Linked DNA regions of Homo sapiens: regions 1, 2 and 4 are each linked to region 3. The links are contacts of gene promoters, found by promoter capture Hi-C in blood cells and fetal thymus (Javierre and others, 2016). All regions are on one chromosome and are shown on one strand. Each heading gives the region's core, a stretch centred on a gene start or on the middle of the fragment in contact. The rest is flanking DNA. Distances are from core to core; before and after follow the strand shown. Region 1 holds the start of RANBP9 (RAN binding protein 9). Region 2 has its middle 4.3 kb from the start of HIVEP1. Region 3 holds the start of E2F3 (E2F transcription factor 3). Region 4 holds the start of JARID2 (jumonji and AT-rich interaction domain containing 2).

Region 1 (2,700 bases), core at 116-2,615, 6.7 Mb after region 3:
GGAGAATCGCTTGAACCCGGGAGGCGGAAGTTGTAGTGAGCTGAGACCACACAACTGCACTCCAGCCTGGGCGACAAAACAATAATAATAATAATAATAAAAGTACAACAGAACATCTAGTTGTCTGGGTAACTGAGGGAGAAATTAGGCCGAATGACTCTGTTATTTGTTCTGGCCAGATAATCTTGGCCTTAAATTAAATCACCTTTGGCCTACCTTCTTCAAAACGAAATAATTTTCTCTTCGGCAAAACATTTCTTATTTGACCAAATGATTACCATCATATCTTTGGAAGCAAACAAAATATCAGAATTTACATCACACAATTTACATATGCAAAGCCTGATTTTGCCAGCTAGGGAGGGATAAGCTAAACAAAGGGAAGTGGTGAAAACAAAGTAGTAATGTTATGATGGGTCAGAGAGCAACACTTGGCAAGTTGTGCCAAATTAGTCGACGAAGCATTCTATTGGGAATTGCAAAGTAGGAAGTCCTATTTTTGACTCTGCTGATCTCGGTAAATATTTCCTTGTTTTAAAAATGGGCATAATTTTCTGTTACCTAAGAACCCTGTTATGAAAATTAACGAGTCTATAAAATGTTCTGACGTCTCTAGAAGCCCTTCCTAAACACACACTATAATCTTGTATTCATACAGTGCCTGCTCCTGCTTTTTGAAGATATGCCGGTCTTTATTAATGACATCTTCTACCACTGTTAAGTTCACTGTGAGTCCTCGTAAAATTAATTAATGAAACAGTCACTATTCTAAGTGGGAGACTGCCTTCAGAAGTGGTTTCTACTGCCCATATGGTCAATGCTACGGAATTAAACACTGAAGTACCAAAGGCAATGCGTTCCTCTTTGGAGGGAGGCGGCAAACGGGAACGGGACTGAGGCGAGAGCTAGCAGCACTGCGCGGGGAGCCTGAGCCGCTCCGCACGCCCCGGGCCGACGGGTCCTAGAGCGCCCCGGGGCCTGGGCTCGCGGCGGCCCCAGCGGGGCTCGATTACTCTCGCCTGGACGAGAAGCGGCGCCTCGGCTCCGAGGAGCCCTACGGTGGGGAGGTGGGGCGACGACAACAAAAAGAAGTCAAGTGGGAGGGGATTCGCCGGCGAGGGGGGCGACGGCGGCCGCCAAGGGAGAGGAGGCGGACACCTCCGAAGGGACCTGCGGCGCCGGGAGCCCAGCGATCCTGCCCACGAGCGACTGGCGGGCCCGGGAGGACGCCTCGCGGCGCACAGCCGGGAGCCCCGCGGCCCGCCCCCTCGCACCGCTCGCGCCTCTCTCGCGCCTCCGTCCCGCCCCCTCGCCTAGCGCCGCCCGCGCGCAGCGTCTCGCGCCGGCCCGGCCCGCCCGCCGGGAAACAGCCGCGAGAGCAGCGGCCGCGGCGGCCGCCAGCGCGCCTTCCCCTCCCGCGCTCCCGCGTCGCCCCCGCCCTCGGCGCCTCGTCCCCGGGCCGCGCGCCCGCGCTCCGGCCAACGTTCTCTCCCGGCCTCCCGGGCCCGCCGCCTACTCCCGCGTCTCCGAGCTCCTCAACCGCCGCGGTCTCCCTGGGCGCGCGGCCCGCCGCCTGCTTCCGGGGCGGGCGGACTGGGCGCCTGGTGCCGGCGGCCGCAGCGACAGCGCCCCCGGGAAGCAGAGGAGGAAGGAGAGAAGAGGTGGAGGTGGCCGCAGGCTGAGTCGCGGCCGGGATGTCCGGGCAGCCGCCGCCGCCGCCGCCGCAGCAGCAGCAACAGCAGCAGCAGCTGTCGCCGCCACCGCCGGCGGCCTTGGCCCCAGTCTCCGGAGTCGTCCTGCCGGCGCCCCCGGCCGTCAGCGCCGGCTCTTCTCCGGCCGGCTCGCCCGGCGGCGGTGCGGGCGGCGAAGGCTTAGGGGCCGCGGCGGCCGCCCTGCTCCTCCACCCTCCGCCGCCGCCGCCCCCGGCCACCGCGGCCCCGCCGCCCCCGCCGCCGCCCCCGCCTCCCCCTGCCTCAGCGGCTGCCCCCGCCAGCGGGCCGCCCGCTCCCCCGGGCCTTGCAGCGGGCCCCGGCCCGGCTGGAGGAGCCCCGACCCCAGCTCTGGTGGCGGGCAGCAGCGCCGCGGCCCCCTTCCCTCACGGGGACTCGGCCCTGAACGAGCAGGAGAAGGAGTTGCAGCGGCGGCTGAAGCGTCTCTACCCGGCCGTGGACGAACAAGAGACGCCGCTGCCTCGGTCCTGGAGCCCGAAGGACAAGTTCAGCTACATCGGCCTCTCTCAGAACAACCTGCGGGTGCACTACAAAGGTACTGGGCGTGTGTCCTGCGGTGGGAGTGGGGCACTGACCCGACGTGGCCGGCCGCCGCTGCGCCGCTCTCGACCCGCCCCCGACCCCCGCCCTCGCGGGCTCTGCCCTCGGAGGCCACTCGCCGCCTGTTGTGCTGCTCCGGGTGGGCGCGGGGGTCGCGGTGAAGGGTCCGAGGGTGAGGGGCGAGATTCTTGGAAAAGGAAGGTGAGTAGAATGCCCCAGGGTAGAAAGGAGCTGGTAATCCTAGACCAGGAGCAGGACACCTTGAGGGAATCCGGGATGACAGGACAGAACTGGCTTTCTGATTTCCCTGGGAGATAAATCTTGGGGCTTGGGTAGAGGAATCCATGGACTCGGAGTTGGGTTACATTGTTCTCCAGGTGGTGGGTCAGGCGTTCTCCTCTTACAAGGGGGGAAGAGAGGCACGATTCTG
Region 2 (2,700 bases), core at 28-2,527, 8.4 Mb after region 3:
GCGAACAGTTTGGAGAGGGCACAAAGTCCACCCCGGAGCCGCGTCCACTGGGCCCCGCGCCACCCTGCCCGCCCCCGCCGCTGCGTCCACGGCTCGGGTTCCCACGCGGCCGCCCGGCCGGGCCCGGCTCAGGCACCCCCCTGGCGCGGCCCCGCGGCCCCGGCCCTCCGCCCAGCGCGCGGCCCGGCAGCGCCGCCGCCGCCGCCGCCGCCGCCACCGCCACGCGGAGATCCCGGAGGTTCCTCCCCGCCGGCCGCCGGGTCACGCCGCTCGTCCCTCCCCTCGGCCCTCCGCCCTCCGCCCTCCGCGCGCGCTGGGCTTTCCCATCCACCGGCCGAATCCCCTCCTCCTCTGGGCAACCCGGCGACAAAACCTTCCCCGCACGCCCTGCCAACTCTGCCCCACGCCCAGGCTCTTCCCAAGCCAGGCGCCAGACAAAAGAACCGAGAGAAAAACTTACCCGAACTGCAACACAAAAGTCTGATCCAAAGCTTCCTGGGTTTAACTTTTAATTTTAAAAACAAAAAAGCAGAAACCAAAAGCCTCCTAGGTTGGAAGTGGGCGTGAGAGGAAATGCTAGAGGGAGGCGCTTCATTCCCCGGGCTGCCTGTGCCCCCCTTTCTGGCCCCTGCCCGGGGCTTTGATGTTATCTAGTGCACCGCCTCCATCGGTTTCTACCTTGGGCTCTGCGCCGCCGAGAAGATAGACAGATCTTCCGCACTTCACTTGCAGGTTCTGAGAGAGGCAAGCAGGTAGTCGCGGGAAAGGACCCACACTCCTTAGCCCCGCAGTGAGAGAGGAACATTTGCACGGGCTTCCTGTTGCTACCTGGACTGAAATGAACAATCCACCCCTCTAGTGATCCTGGAGACTTGCACCGTATGGTCTTTCCTGCTAGACGCACAGCGGGAGGCCTCCTACATTAGATTCATTTTCCCTCCACCCGTAGCACAAACTTGTAAGATGGTGGTGGAGTATGTTTCCTGAGGCTTTGTTCGGGTTTTAGATCTCAGTTTGGAAGGTAAATATTATTTCCCTTCTGAGACAGTCCTGCAGCCTTGAAAAGACAAGAATAAAAATCTAAAGGCAACAAATTCTATAACATGCTTTCCATACACCATAAATTCCCTTATGGGTCAAAATATCCGCACACTTTCCCCTCACGTTATGAAAAGCTTGTAACTGTTGATTTTCTTTTGTCTGGACACTAGCAGACACTGGATATAGTTTTTCATTAGGTTAGCAGTCTCGGGACCATCACTAACAAAACACTACAACAAAGAATTTTTTTTTTTTTAACAGATTACTAATAAAGAAGGACGGCAGTGTCTAGCAATCAGCCTTACCTGTGCCTCCACTTTACACCAACAGAAGCTTGTGTTCAGGCCTTGCCCTCTGGAAGATTACAAATTAATGGAGACAGGATAAACACATGGAAAAATACCTAGAGGGAAAAAAAGATATAAGAGGCTTATAAACAGAGCCAATTAAAGTTATACAGTTATTTACATGATCGCTGAGAGGCTTCTGCTTGAGTAGAGGACGGGGTGAGCAGAGTCCCATCCTGGGGGTGAGTTCTCAGTGGGATATTGAAGGAGAGAAAGTTCACGATTTGGCAGTGGTGGAAGTACAGCATTCTAGAGGAGGGAAATAACTTGAAGGTGAGAGCAAGTGAACTGTGTGTGATGGTTTTTCCACCGAGAGCAGAAAGTCTAAGCAAATGGGAAACAAGTAACACCCATGCCAGGACACTTGAGAGTGAAAGGGAAGGTATTAATAATTATACTCAGGGCCGGGCGCAGTGGCTCACGCTTGTAATCCCAGCACTGTGGGAGGCCGAGGGGGGCGGATCACAAGGTCAGGAGATCGAGACCATCCTGGCTAACACAGTGAAACCCTGTCTCTACTAAAAATAGAAAAATTAATTGGGCGTGGTGACGGGCGCCTGTATTCCCAGCTATTCGGGGGGCTGAGGCAGGAGAATGGCGTGAACCAGGGAGGCGGAGCTTGCAGTGAGCCAAGATCACGCCACTGCACTCCAGCCTGGGCCACAGAGCGAGACTCCGTCTCAAAAAAAAAATCATGCTCAGATGAGAGATGTACACCTGGATTGCCCCGGGGCCATTGGGAAGGGTGGGTTCTCTCGTAATGAGCTAGGAAGACAGAATGGGCAGGCAACAGGCAACCAGAGAAGAGCCTACTCAGTCATCATTTGGAAGGAATTAAGACATGATATTACAAACAGTTGGTAGCTATTTGGAGACATCTGGCCTGAGAATGGTCTTTTTAAGGAAAGTTATTGTTACTGATGGATTTAGGATCGATATGGAGGCTGGTTACAAAAACTGCAGTAACATTAGCAGTTGTAATAATGGTAGTGGTAGTGATTAACAGCTATTGAGCGCTTACGACTTGCCGGGTTTTCCTATATAAACTCATTTAGTCCCCGCCATAAACCCACACTGTAGATGAAGAAACAGAGGCTTAGAAATGCTACATAGTCTTCCGGAAGCTACAGAGCTGGTAAATGATAGAACTATGATGGGGATCCAGAAAATATTCAGATGCTCAAAGTTTAAAGATTATATTTTGTGAAAACCAGATTTCAATAACTTTATAATATTCTACATCAATGGAGAGAATAAGAAAAGGGAATTTTTTAAAGTTTTTCAAATTTCGATGTGTCATGAAAATGATGGG
Region 3 (2,700 bases), core at 56-2,555:
GAGTTACAGATCCTAAAATGTGTCAAGCGCAGCCCCGCCGATCCCCTGCGCTCCGAGCACGCCGCAGGGACCCCCGGCCGCCAACGAGCCTCCAAGGCCGACTGGGGGCTAGCACCCCAACAGTCCCCCGGTTTCAACCCCTCAGAGCCCCCCACACCCCAGTTCACTACTCCCTCCCCCACCCCCTTCTCCATCCGGGGCGTGACCCCTTCCTACGCCCGAGAAAGAGGAAGCTTCGAGTTGGAGGGGAAGGGAGAGTGGGGGTAGGGAAAAGTGCAGGAAAAGAAGGGGGGGCCGCGAAAAGTTTTGGAGTGTTTGATGTGGTTCGCGCCAAGGCAATCCCCGCCGCCCCGCGCGCCTGGCCGAGCCCCCCGACCCTCCTGGCGCCGGGAAGAGCACTCAGGTCTAACAATGAACCCTCGTTGGAGGGGCAGCCCCCGAGGCCCACGATGCTCGGCCCAGTGCTCTCCCCGAGCGGCCCGCAGCGCGCCCACGACCCCGCGCGGTGCGAGCCCACCTCCCGCCGGGGCTGGGGACGGTGGGGAGGGAGGGTATTACCGGAGGGCCGCCGCCGCCGCCGCTGCCGCCGCGTCCCAGCGCTGGTGGCTGCTGCAGCAGCCCGGCTCTGCTGGAGGGTCCGTGCGGCGTGGTGTAGAGGAGGCTGCCGGCGGTCTGCTCCGCGCCGGGGGCACTGGGGAGGAGGGGGCCGGCGGCTACGGCGCCGCTTTGGAGGGAGGAGGAACAGGAGGTGGTGGAAGTGTTCGTGGTGAGGATCTGGATGTACGCGCCCGGGGCGGCGGCAGCGGCGGCGGCGGCGGCGAAGCCGGGGCTGGCTAGCAGTGCCCTTTTGTCCATGGAGGCTGCAGCGGCGGCGGCGACGACAGCCGCCCCCTCCCCACCCCCGGCGGTCACCAGGTACTGCTCCAGAGCGGGCTGGATTCCCTTTCTCATCTCTCGCTCCTGCTCTTTTTAGTGTTATGGTATATTAATGTATTGTTTTCAATTTCTTTATTATTTGCAGTCGGAGTTTCCAAGTCTCTCCTCCTTCTCTCCTCCCCGCCCGGCGCTTCCGAGCCCCCTCTCTCTCTTTTCTTTTTATTTTTCCGCACCGCACAGGCCCCGGGGGCCAAAAATAATCGGGGCTCTGGAGAGAGGAGGGTCCCGGCCGCACGGATATCGGGCCCCAAGCGGGGATGGAGGCGTCGGGGGCGGCCGATGCAACGGATTGCGAGGCGGCGGCGGCAGCCCGGGTGCTGCGGCCGGCAGCTGAAAAATGGCTCCAGGAAGCTGCTGCTGACAATGAATGAAGGGATACGGTTTACGCGCCAAGGTCCTCCCGCGAAACTCGGATTTCCCGCCGGCTTTTCAAACCATATTTGCATATCCCCGCCCCTCAACCCGCCGAGGACCGTTCCCACAGCCCATTGGGCCGCTACCTCCTTACTTCAGTCCCAATCATGGAGCAGGGCCGCGACTTGCTGGTTTCCATTGGCTGCCGTGCATCATGGTTACCGGGGCGACAGGGACCCTATTTGCATAGGCCTCCTTGATTGGCTGGCAGAAGAGCAGTTTTTAGGGGGTGGGGCAAAGAATTTCCTTCTCTCCCACGGAAGACCACGCCTGGCCTAGGCTCCGCCCCTGTCCCCGCCCGCCCGCCGGGCCGGCGCTACTGACCTGGGCAGGGACTCCGCGCCCCGCAGACTCAGTGTAGATCTAGTCTAGAGCCCAAGTTTCGCTTTTGGAAATTGTCAAGGTGACTAAGGGAACACTCTTTCCTTTGACCAGTCAGTGCAATAAACGAACAGCGCAGGAGATTTTTCCAGATACGTGCCAAAGGCAAGTTGGACCATGCGGACGATGTCTGGCAGGTGCAAAAGGAGCCCTTTAAATCGTGGGCTTCTCCCTTCCTGAAATCCAACCAATGACGCGGCGAGAGCTGATCCCGAGGCCGGGGCTGATAGACAGAAGCATGTGGGCAGACAGAATCGTGGGGGCAGAAGGTTCAGCAGACGCGATTGCGGGCACCAGTTAACATTCCAGATCATTCCCGGTACCTTCATTATTAGCCTGGATAGGGGTAAAGTACAAATTAACTCTTTTGTCTTACAACGGATATTGGTTTGAATCCAGCAGACATTCCCTCTGGCCCAGAAACACCCAGGGCAGTTAATCAGGGCTAACCTAGAACTGATCTACGGGTTTCTAATCCGCCAAGCAGTAATCCGAAAAAGTACACGCTTCCCACGATGACGTCGTGCCCCCAACGAACGCAGGCACGCCCAGGCATCAGCACTTTATATCTTCAGTTTTGTAGGAAGTTCTCTGACTGGAAGCAAACACAACGACTCAAACCTATCCCAAAGTATTTTTAAAATAGTGTCTTTTTTTAAAAAGTAAACTAGAAATTGTCATCAGAAAAATATAAAATGATGTGTCAAACTGACTCCTGAATTTGTTCAAGTATTCATGGGTCTTAAAATTAAAGCTTGCTCCTGAGATTGAGCAGGAAAAGAGACCCCTGCAGGAATGTGGGGGAAGTTATGTATGTAGAGACTAGATCATAATTTATAGTTACGTGCAAAACAGCTGCAGAATTGGTGCTCATAGGTGATGAGGATTGCAACACCTTGAGCCCTTTCACAAGATTTTTATTACTATTATTAATTTCCCAAAACTCTTACTCAGAGTGCTATGAAACAC
Region 4 (2,700 bases), core at 18-2,517, 5.2 Mb after region 3:
TTAAATCTAGGAATAATCACCCAATTTCAGAAGCCCAGTTAACAGGGAGAAATTATTTGTAGTTACTTACATATGCATTCACGTACACACTTAAAAACATTAGCCATAGTGTGTGTCCTTTTCCCCTACAACTGGAAACCATGAATTTTTTAAACAAAACCAGCCTCATTATTAAAGTCAATCCCAACAAATGCATTCGCTGTAACATGATTCCCAACTGGTTTATGTTGCAAACCAGATAAGCCAAAACGACCACAGACATTAAATTTGATGTGCCAGTGCAAAGAGAAGATCGCCATAATCGGACCCTCGATCGCAACTTAAAGGGCTTCCAACACACATGCGTTACACGATTTTTCCAAATAACATTAATAATAATAACACAGGCTCATTTGCATGCAAAGTGCAATACGGGGCCAAATCCGCTTGAGAATGCAGTTTAGTTACATTACCGCAGCCACCCCCCACCTCAAGCTCCACCAAAATCCCTTGCCTTTCATCTAAAAGTAGATTATGGTTGTGTCATTCGAGGTCAATTTATTCACTTGAGGTATCTCTACACCAGTCTGTTTTTTCAACCAAACTAGGCAGACACCACTTTGCTTGAAAAGCCCTCTTTCAGAAAAAAAAGAAACAGCCTTATCGGACGCTGTGTTTAAAACCCTTCAGAGGCAGAATTATCTATAAACTTGACATTCACAGCCATTGCTTAAAACTGCAAGTCAAAGGATGTGTTGTTAGGAGCACTTACGTATTTCTTCTGAATGATATTCCTCTTGGGTCTTTCCTTGCTCATTCTGAGATCCAAATGCTGATTGCAAAAGGGGACAATTGCTTCATGAATTTAAAGCCGTCAGAAATTTGCAAAAAAATATCCTGGTGGTTTTTATTGTTGTTGGTGGTGGTTGATCTTGTAATCCGACTTTTCTTCCTCTTCCCCCAAAGCCAGATTCGCCTTGAAATAAATCCGAAATTGGGAAGGAAAAAAAAAGAGCCAAAGACGAACGAAGCAAACAAAAAAAAATTCACTTTAGTAAAACACTCATAATGGAAAATTTCCCCCGAAACACATACACACACACACAAAAAAAAACCGACGCCCTTCACTCCCCCCCCTTTTTCCTCCAAAAACTACATCAGCGAAACGTGAAGGTCCTTAGTGTCTGATCCGTAGTTACATCTTGGAAAAGAAAAGGGAAAGATAAATAAAAAATGTTGGAAGTCACGTTTGTGCTGCAGCAGCAGTGCGAGCAGAAGAGTCAACTCCAGCGGCGGCGGCGGCGGCGGCGGCAGCACCACAGCGAGGGCTCGCCGAGTCTCTTTTTTCCAAGCCCCCTAACCAATGAGAGAGAGGCTATCCAGCCCAACTTTAAATGGACTCTGCTTTTATACAAGTTAGGGCTCCTCGGATAATTCCCCGCCGGGCGCCAGCCGAAAACTCCCACCGCTCAGCCGCCAGGCGCCCGCTTAGCCTGGTGCCGACCGCCCCTGGCCCAGTCCAGGGCACCCCCGCAGCCTGGCCAACCAGACACCCGAGCGACCTCGACGAACCCCTCCCAGGCAAGCCCTCGGGCGTCGCTCCCACGCCGAGCCCAGGCGTGGAATTGAGAGAGGCTCCCTAGCTCAATGCATGGCACGCTCCGTCGCTCCACCTCACCCCCTTTCCCCTGCCTGCCGCTCACCCCACGGCCGCCCCACGCCAGCCCCCGCCACTGCCTTCGCGTCTACCTGCAGCCGGGCTGCTGGGTAGGAGTGCCCCAGGACGCCCGGCCCCGGGGAGAGCCGCCTATTCCCGGGGCACCTTAGAATGGTCCCCTTGATCTTCTGGAAGTTGTAGTCCCCCGACTACAAAATGGCTATGGCCACGGAAGCTGGGAACTACAATTCCCAGCCTGCCCCGCAAAGCCTGTCACTCAACTCCCCTCCCTCCTCCTCGCCCCCTCCCCCTCACTGGCCGTGCCAACAAACGCTTGGACGTGTCCCGCGTGCGACACTGCTAGAGGCTGGCTCGGGATTGGCCCGCGGAGCGTGTGGTCCGCGAGCGAGGAACTCCCCACGCCGGCCCTCCTCCGCCCCCCGGGCCCCGGCCCCCCTCCCCTGGCGGCCGCCAGCCCCCTCCCCGCGCGCCCCGCCCCCACCCGCGGCGCGAACCGCCTGTGGAATCGAGGAATCGCGCGCGTGCGGCCCGGAGCCGCGGGGGAGGGACGCGAGGCTTCCCCGGGGAAGGCCTCGGAGCGTGGCGGTGAGGGGGGCGGTGTCAGGGAGGGGTTGGAGCCCGTCCTAAGGAAAACTGGGCCACGCACCAAGAGGAATCCTCGGTGCGAACTAGTTGATCGGCGGCGCCTGCTGCTTGTGCCGTGCAGCCGGTGTCACCTCAGGACAGCGCCTCGCGTCTGTGTACAGAGCGTGCTGCGGGCGCCTAGGGTAGTCCGAGGTCACCCCTCTCCGCGCCCCGCAGTCGCGCACGCCCCCACGCGCGGGGTGGGCGGTGGCCGGGGGTCGCCGAGTGGAAAGGCCACGCCCCCCCACGCCCGGGCTCGGCACGCTGCCCCTGGGTCGCGAACGCGCCTCCGCTCGACCCGCTTGGAGGACGTCGCTGGTGGCCCAGGAGTGAAGCCCCGGCGGCTGCCTCCTGAGAAAAGATAGCCGTGTTTAAAGAGACTGAACGGGATCTTTGCTTTGCCGGGCGTATTTTGTGAT

The links. Contacts are between HindIII fragments. The CHiCAGO score rates a contact against its expected background, and 5 or more counts as called.
Region 1: the fragment with the promoter of RANBP9 here is called in contact with the fragment with the promoter of E2F3 in region 3 in 1 of 17 cell types (total CD8 T cells); the score reaches 6.8 in total CD8 T cells.
Region 2: a fragment that was not itself captured here is called in contact with the fragment with the promoter of E2F3 in region 3 in 1 of 17 cell types (non-activated CD4 T cells); the score reaches 5.1 in non-activated CD4 T cells.
Region 4: the fragment with the promoter of JARID2 here is called in contact with the fragment with the promoter of E2F3 in region 3 in 1 of 17 cell types (naive CD8 T cells); the score reaches 6.8 in naive CD8 T cells.

The regions. Positions count from the first base shown.
Region 1 is chr6:13,710,500-13,713,199 of GRCh38, reverse strand. RANBP9 (RAN binding protein 9) reads left to right here and starts at 1,365. Exons shown (of 14, transcript NM_005493.3): 1 at 1,365-2,265. The coding sequence starts at 1,695. It overlaps LOC124901264 (a long non-coding RNA gene), which reads left to right and starts at 446. Exons shown (of 2, transcript XR_007059462.1): 1 at 446-517; 2 at 659-848. RefSeq lists silencers at 861-1,630, 1,791-1,910, 1,991-2,040, 2,301-2,420. The HindIII fragment of the contact is 8,985 bases long and covers 1-2,700 here.
Region 2 is chr6:12,006,636-12,009,335 of GRCh38, reverse strand. It overlaps a transcript of HIVEP1 not described here. Among named protein-coding and RNA genes, the nearest start is that of HIVEP1, 4.3 kb to the left of the region's middle. RefSeq lists a silencer at 47-166. The HindIII fragment of the contact is 199 bases long and covers 1,178-1,376 here.
Region 3 is chr6:20,400,484-20,403,183 of GRCh38, reverse strand. It overlaps E2F3 (E2F transcription factor 3), which reads right to left and starts at 1,305. Exons shown (of 7, transcript NM_001949.5): 1 at 559-1,305. The coding sequence starts at 951. It overlaps LOC124901482, which reads left to right and starts at 412. Exons shown (of 3, transcript XM_047419652.1): 1 at 412-759; 2 at 804-915; 3 at 1,022-2,443. The coding sequence starts at 412. The coding sequence ends at 1,629. RefSeq lists silencers at 171-640, 1,491-1,730 and an enhancer at 868-1,392. The HindIII fragment of the contact is 2,252 bases long and covers 236-2,487 here.
Region 4 is chr6:15,244,636-15,247,335 of GRCh38, reverse strand. JARID2 (jumonji and AT-rich interaction domain containing 2) reads right to left here and starts at 1,267. Exons shown (of 18, transcript NM_004973.4): 1 at 752-1,267. The coding sequence starts at 796. It overlaps JARID2-DT (JARID2 divergent transcript), which reads left to right and starts at 1,962. Exons shown (of 1, transcript NR_187237.1): 1 at 1,962-2,700. RefSeq lists enhancers at 1,190-1,289, 1,400-1,449, 2,639-2,700 and silencers at 2,060-2,319, 2,330-2,639. The HindIII fragment of the contact is 5,356 bases long and covers 1-2,700 here.